Linked DNA regions of Homo sapiens: region 1 is linked to region 2. Evidence: promoter capture Hi-C in 16 types of primary human blood cells and fetal thymus (Javierre and others, 2016). All regions are on one chromosome and are shown on one strand. The core of a region is centred on a gene start or on the middle of the fragment in contact, and the rest is flanking DNA. Distances in the headings are between cores, read along the strand shown.

Region 1 (3,565 bases), core at 19-2,518, 600 kb after region 2:
AAGACAGAAAGGTTACATATGCATAAGATAGAGGGGTTACATATGCATATTTTTGACCAAAATAATTATCTTGTGTATATCTTTAATCAATTTGGTAGTGTCATATAAATTGTTTTACATTTCTATGTTGTCTTATTTGTTTGTTTGGTTTGGTTTCCTCCACTCTGTGGCCACTAAGAGTGCTGAATGTCATTAGGTAAGAGCTAATTACCCTTTCTTTCTCAATAATTTCTTTGACGGCCTATATATTTATTTTAATGACAATGTTGCTCAAAACACATTTGAAATTGCCTTTTTCAGGTACACAAATCATACAAGAGACTTGGCATTGTCAATTTATGGTTAAAATTTTTGGTCATCATTTATGACCAAAAATAGCATTACCAACCCAGAATTCCACTGCTAGGTATATACCTAATAGAAATGAATAGTAGCACTATTTGTATTAGTCCCAGTGGAACAACCCAAATATCCATAATGTCCATTGTTAGAATGGATGCACTGTAGTGTATTCATTCAATAAAGGACTATGAAGACATGAGAATGAATAGCTTAACGCTGCCCACAGCAACACAGACAAATTTCAAAAATATGTAATTGATCAAAAGAAGCCAGAAAGTACATACTGTACACTTCCATTTACTTAAGTTTCAAAATCAGGCAAAATTAATCTATAGCGGTAAAGTTGGGATTCTGTTTATGCTTTTACCCGTGGTGGGGGCGGGATGCTGGAAGGGAACACAAGGGGAGAATTTCTGGGGGGCTGGTAATTCTGCTTCATGGTGCCTTTTGAATGGACATGTTCACTGTGAAAATTAACAAGCAGTACACTTACGATTTGTACACTGACTTTTCTATATATGTGTCATACTTCAGTAAGAACTTCTTTCAAAAATAAAAGTATTACTCCCCCTACCCCTTAAGATGAACCTCTTCTGTCTGACATTGTGCTGAATGACTCGGGACACCTAGAGTGAATTCAGCTCTCAGCGCCAGGTAGGTTGTGGCTGAAGCTACACAGACTCAGGTATAATCCAGCCACGGATGACTTTTGTTGTGGGTGTTCACTGGCCTGCCATCCAGGCTGCTGGAGGTGAATGGCATGGGAATCTGGAGAGGAAGTTCAACGGGCCCAGGGGCTGAAGTTTGAGGAAATATTCCTGCTGCTCAAGAGCCTGGAACTCTCACCTGCCCCACATCTATTAGTCTTTCTGGACAATGATGGAAGTTTCTACGTCTCCCTTTTCTATCCCTGTTACTTCTTTTAAAAGTCTTTTTCCTCCTAGGATTAGTCCAGGCTATCCTCACCCAGCTCTCCTGATGAATGTGAACGGCTTTCCACTTGCATCAGTTTTTTGGAGTCTTCTCTCAGAGTTCCAGCAGTGCCCCCTTGTGACTGCATGTGTGTGGCTGCCACCAGGCAAACAGCAGAGCTGTTTCCAGGATCTCCTCCTACTCCCTCTTTGCTCCATTTCTTCTCCTCCCTGGTGTTTTATGAACTCATGCTTCTTTCTGGGTACCCAGAACCTTCCAATTCAGTCACCCTTAAGATCTCGAAGAATCCAATCTTGCAGACCTTTCATTCCCTCCCAATTCTCCCCATCAACATTTACTTATCCTATGTCCCATTCCATTGGTCTCTGACAAGGGAGACGATCCTTACAATATAACTCAGGCATAGCAAATAAACAGCTTCAAGTGTAACCTTTCCTAAGTAATAGTTGCTGTTTTATAATAGCAGCTTTCAATGTCTTCATCCAAAGGAATGAGTAAGAAAGGAATTCTAGCACCATGGTAAGGTCAGGGGTTCTCTTCTGATGTCCCTCAAATCACACAGCCATATTAAGACAGGCTGTGTCAGTTAGTGTTTACTGTTAGCAAGCCACCAAAACAGACCCAGCAGAGGGAAGTTATAGTAAGGATAGCAGGAATGTACAGGTGGAGGGAGAGACCAGCCAGCCAGCTTTGGAAATGGGCCGCTGGGCTAGAAGCAGAACTGTGGGAAAGGAGCCATTGGAGGAATGGTCTCATAAGGACACCACCCTCATCTTAATGATCTTTCACCATGTTTAGACTCCACATCATTCTGCTTAAAATTCACATTCCAGGGAGGATGTGCAATCGGGCCAGCTGGGGTCATCTGGCTGCCACCTGGCTAGGGCAGAATAGGCACCTGATTGGCTGTTTGGAAGGTGTGCTGAAGCTGGGTGGTCCAAACTCACCAAAGCCCACCATGTGAATGAACCCCATCATGCAAATCTGAGATCGAGTACATGTAATTATCCCAGGCCACATACCAGTGTAATAGATCTACTCTCATAACGACAAAAGAGTTGACAACTTCATTCTCTTCAGCAACCAGAAACCTAGGTGGGGTCTGAGTCAAGGTTTGAAATGAAGAACAACTAATATAAACATTATTGCCAGGCACAGTGGCTCACGCCTGTAATCCCAGCACTTTGGGAGGCCGAGGCAGGTGGATCACTTGAGATCAGGAGTTCCAGACCAGCCTGGCCAACATGGTGAAACCCTATCTCTACTAAAAATACCAAAAAAATCAGCCTGGTGTGGTGGCACCTGCCTGTAATCCCAGCTACTCGAGAGGCTGAGGCAGGAGAATTGCTTGAACCCAGGAGGCAGAGGTTGCGGTGAGCCAAGATCACGCCACTGCACTCCAGCCTGGGTGACAGAGTGAGACTCTGTCTCAAAAATAAATGACTAAAATTTTTTTTAAAAAAAACATTATTATATGAGCCAAATAGTGCAGCAACTCCATGTACTAGGTTTTTGTGAGAAAATGAGGCTGAAATGGCAAAGCGCTTCTCTTGGGCACTGTAAATCAGAACGGTATACTTCTGGCCAAATGTGTCTCCCACTGAAGACTAAGAAGAGAACATGGCTGTCCTTTATATTGTCACTGTTGATAAATAGGCCCTCCTGGCAGCATGCCAGGTCATATCATGAAAGGACAGCTGTGGGTGGTGTGTATAGTGTCAGTCCATGAGAATGAGTCATGAGGCCACGCGGTGCAAGAACGAAAGATAAAGGAAGCAGCACCGACCAACGCTTCAATGTTTAATGCTTATGTCTCACTATGCCGATGAACTGCTGTTACAAAACGACTTCCCTTTAAAACAAAGACTCAAAAACCAAAATGAAGTGAGGCATTTCATGGGGCAGTCCACATGTCAGGATCACCTCCAGACTGTACTACTCCTGGTTACAAGCCACTCTGGCAGAACAAAACCCCAGATGACAGGCCTCAGTTTGGATTTCTTCATAGCAATGGAAACAGCAACTGCGCAGGCAGGCAGAGGTCTTTGAGTAGAGTTGGTGTCCCCTTGTTCCATTTCATTTTGTAAGTGTTCTATATTTTTCTGATTAAAGAGAATTTTGAAGAATCCCTAGTAACAAAATAGTAAAGATGTTGCACTGCCTCTGAATTTTCCTCTTATGATATGCACCAATGTATTAGTACATTCTCACACCACTGTGAAGAAATACCTGAGACTGGGTAATTTAATAAGCAAATAGGTTTAATTGACTCACAGTTCTGCAGGGCTGG
Region 2 (3,817 bases), core at 677-3,176:
AAAGCCACCCCTCTTGCTTCACCATTATTAGAAGCATTCTCACATTCCACATCAACAATTAAAAAAGTAAGTAAGAAAAATTATTAAACAGATTACATTAAATGCTATATATGAGAAGAAGGCATTTAAGACAGTCTTGTCATCCACTAATTCATATAACCTACTGTAAGGGTTGTATGGTTGAAAACAATTTTCATAAACCACAAATAGCTCGTAAAACATACCTGCAATATCTTCTAGCTCCTTGGTATCAACCCTGTAACAAAAAGTTGCAACACAATTTTAACATAATGCTACACAAAAGGCCTTGTTTGTTGGGAAGAAATGTCTTGTGTGAAATGTTCTGCATAGAACATAACAGTGATGACATGATCCAAAGCTGACTTTTCCTAAAAGACCTTATCTGACAGGCAAAAGGGACTTAAACACTTTACCCCGTGTGTTCATCTGTTTCAGCAAAAGATCCTCTTTCCCCATGCTCATCAGTTACATCTCCCTCCTTTGTCTCTGTAACAGGTTTTCTTTCCTCATGCTCATGACTTACTGGATCCTTTCCTGCATTAAAATAAAAAAGACAAACCTTTTTTAGAGGAAGACGCTGTTGTGGACATTTTTCATAGAGAAACGTACTATTTGTAGACTTTTTTGGCTCTCCGCCAATTAAAGCTTTACCGCAGAGCTATACATGGAATCGCCGGCTCCTAACCATTTTACGGAGGCATTTTTGGAAGCCCTTCGGGTTCAAGTCCCAGTAAACAACGTTCACAGGTCAGATCCCTTGGATGTCAGGACCGCATCCATGGAGAAGAGCTGCTCTGAGAGCATCTGTAACCCTGCTATGAGGGGGAGCCTCCCACGGGAAGCCTAAGGCCCTTGAGCCTGCTTTGAAAACCTGGGGCATCTCAGCACATGCACGGTGAGCTCCAAAGCCACGAAGGGGCCGGGGGCCTCGGGCTGCCCATGTGCGCCCCGCCCAGAAAGCAGACAGACTGTTGGGCGTGCACCTTCTTCTAGGTCCCCTTGGGCTGTGTTTACCTGCAAGCTCCATTTCCTGGGCGGCCATAACTTGAACCTCCAACTGGTCCTTGGCAGCCATCCTGCTGCCCTTCCTGCCCACGGGCTCCGTGGCTGACTGGCCTGGGAAGCTAGAGGCGACCTCTGAACCTGGTGAGTGCAAAGACACACTAAGGACACTAAGGAAACGAGGCGTGTTAAATGAAAATCATCAGGATCGCAGGTTCAAGGGCGCCCCGGGTCTCCCGTGGGAGCAGGAGGGGACGCGGAGAAGATGCCATCATCCCCTCCTGTCCTGGCCCGTCCAGCGCTTCCCCGGGGCTGGCTGCAGAGCTCGCAGAATTCCGCGGCCTCTGCGGGATTCTTGCAGTGCCCTTGGGACAGAGCCTGGCCCTGCCCCTGGGTTCCCCAGCGACCCAGTGGAGTCGGGAGGGCCGCGGGGTGACACAGGATCTCCCCAGCCATCTCCATGGGAATGAGCCGGTACGCACCTGTTTCTGACAGGGGCAGGGACTGCCCATTCGCCAGCCTGGACGCCCAGGGGACCCCTGGTGACCCCAAGTATCCCGTCCTGATGGGCAGCCAGACAAGACGGACCCACGTTGACCCCCCGACCCCCCCCCAAACGCTGCACACATGCACAGGCCTCCGGGACCCTCCTGGGTCCTGGGGACCACTCAGGCAGCTCCAACTCCCTGCCCTGACCCAGGCCCCAGGCGACAATGCCTGGGCCATTTCCTCACAGATCAGCCTGGCTGCCCCGCCCTTCACACCCTCTTCCCCAAAGGGCCTCTGGCCCGCCTTCCCCGCATCCCCACCGAGGGCGTCTCACCTGAGGGAGCCCTGATGTTGCTCCCTCAGAGGACCTGCAGAGGCTGGCACCGCGAAGCTCCTCCGAGGGCCTGGGTCCTCTGTTCTCACGAGAGCAGCAGCCGCCCCGGCTGCCCGCGCTCCTCGCTGATTGGTCGGCCCAGTGCGCATGCAGGTGGCGGGCGGCATGGGGCCACGCCCCCTGCAGGCACACCCTCCCCCTCACGGACTGTCCATGGCTGCTGTGGACTCATTGGGTGGCTCTCTGAGGCCTCTGTCCCCACGATATTCCAGCTCCTCATCCTGGTGAAGGAAGCAAGGACTCGGGAGTGGTGAGTGCCAGGGGACCCTGCCCTAAGGAATGGAGGCCAAGTGAACGGGGCCTAGGACCTTGCCCCCAGGCTCGTTCCAGCCACTCCTGCCCCTTTGGGTGGAATGGCCATCACCCTGCGGGTGGAGCCCAGGCTCCCTCCCATGTCCTGTGTGCTTCCAACACGCCCAGCTGCATCCTTTTTATCAATGGATTGTGCTTTTATGTTTTATCTAAGAAAATTGTTGACTCCCAGCAGGGGCAGGTAGTTTTCTCCTATCCTACTCCATTCCCTCACACTGGGCATTGCATGATTCTGCAGTGGATATACAAAGTTAAAGACTTTATGTCTAGATTTCTCATGATGTGGTCATTTCTTTTCTTTCATTTTTCTTTTTTCTTTTTTTTTTTTTTTTTGACAGGGTCTTGCTCTGTCACCCAGGCTGGGCTGCAATGGTGTAATCACTACTCACTGTAGCCTCAACTGCCCGCGCTCAAGGGATCCTCCCACCACAGCCTCCCAAGTAGCTGGGACTACAGGCATGTCCCACCATGCCCAGCTAATTTTATTTTATTTATTTATTTATTTTTAGAGACAGAGTCTTACTCTGTCCCCAGGCTGGAGTGCAGTGGCACGATCTCGGCTTCCTGCAACCTCTGCCTCCCTGGTTCAAGCAATTCTCCTGCCTCAGCCTCCCAAGTAGCTGGGACTATAGGCGCACGCCGCCACGCCTGGCTGATTTTTTTTTTTTTTTTTTTGTATTTTAGTAGAGACAGGGTTTCACCGTGTTGCCCAGGCTGGTCTCGAACTCCTGAGCTCAGTCAGTCTGCCCGCCTCAGCCTCCCAAAGTGCTAGGATTACAGGCATGAACCACCGCTCCTGGCCAATTTTGTTTATTTTTTGCAGAGATGAGGTCTCACTATGTTGCCCAGGCTGGTCTGCAACTCCTGGGCTCAAGCGATCCGCCCGCCTCAGCCTCCTAAAGTGCTGGGGTTACAGGCTTGAGCCATCGTGCCCAGCCCGATTATTTCCACAGCTGGGTTGGAAGCCATCTTTCCCTGACAAGGCAGCTCACCTTTATATCTAAGAGTTCTCTATAACCTAAAGAGAATCCCTAATTACTGACACTAAATACCACCAGCTGTCCCCATTTCCCCACAATCTACTTGGTACCCAAATTAGCCAATGAGACATCTTGGGGAATTTTAAGCCATGATTGCTTCAGGTTTCTCTCTCTTTCGAGCTTAAGATGTGTAACATTAAGAAAGAAGACAAATCTTGCAGAGGGCTTTGTGCAACCAGTCTTACAGCTTTCTATCCCATCTGGATCAATGTAATTTTCATATGCTTCATCAAAGATTTCAGCTGAAAGTACTATACCAGGTTCTGTCTATAATTGGAAACACATACACACATACACCAACTACTGGTATTCAGCTAAGAATTCAATGCTGGCTCATTTTTCTTTAAAAGAATGTCAAATCAAGGAACAATTCTCCATCACAAAGTGGAATTTGATGTCAGGTGAAGACAAATGGGGATTACAGAGCTACTTCTTTGGCATAACAGCCTAGAAACAAACTGAAAAGGATTCTGCAATTTTAAATAGGCACAAAGACATTCTTTTCAGAACACCAAGTGTCCAAGTTACAAAACCCTGAAGAAATTCTTTTAAACTTTGG

The links. The method cuts DNA at HindIII sites, captures the fragments that hold promoters and counts their contacts. A CHiCAGO score of 5 or more calls a contact.
Region 1: a contact is called between a fragment that was not itself captured here and the fragment with the promoter of FAM9C in region 2, in 1 of 17 cell types (non-activated CD4 T cells). The highest score is 5.5, in non-activated CD4 T cells.

What each region holds. Positions count from the first base shown.
Region 1 is chrX:13,644,854-13,648,418 of GRCh38, forward strand. No RefSeq gene overlaps it. Among named protein-coding and RNA genes, the nearest start is that of TCEANC, 6.5 kb to the right of the region's middle. The HindIII fragment of the contact is 5,934 bases long and covers 1-3,565 here.
Region 2 is chrX:13,042,694-13,046,510 of GRCh38, forward strand. It overlaps FAM9C (family with sequence similarity 9 member C), which reads right to left and starts at 1,927. Exons shown (of 8, transcript NM_174901.6): 1 at 1,847-1,927; 2 at 1,036-1,164; 3 at 435-555; 4 at 225-256. The coding sequence starts at 1,096. It overlaps LOC105373133 (a long non-coding RNA gene), which reads left to right and starts at 2,040. Exons shown (of 4, transcript NR_171577.1): 1 at 2,040-2,156. The HindIII fragment of the contact is 8,868 bases long and covers 665-3,817 here.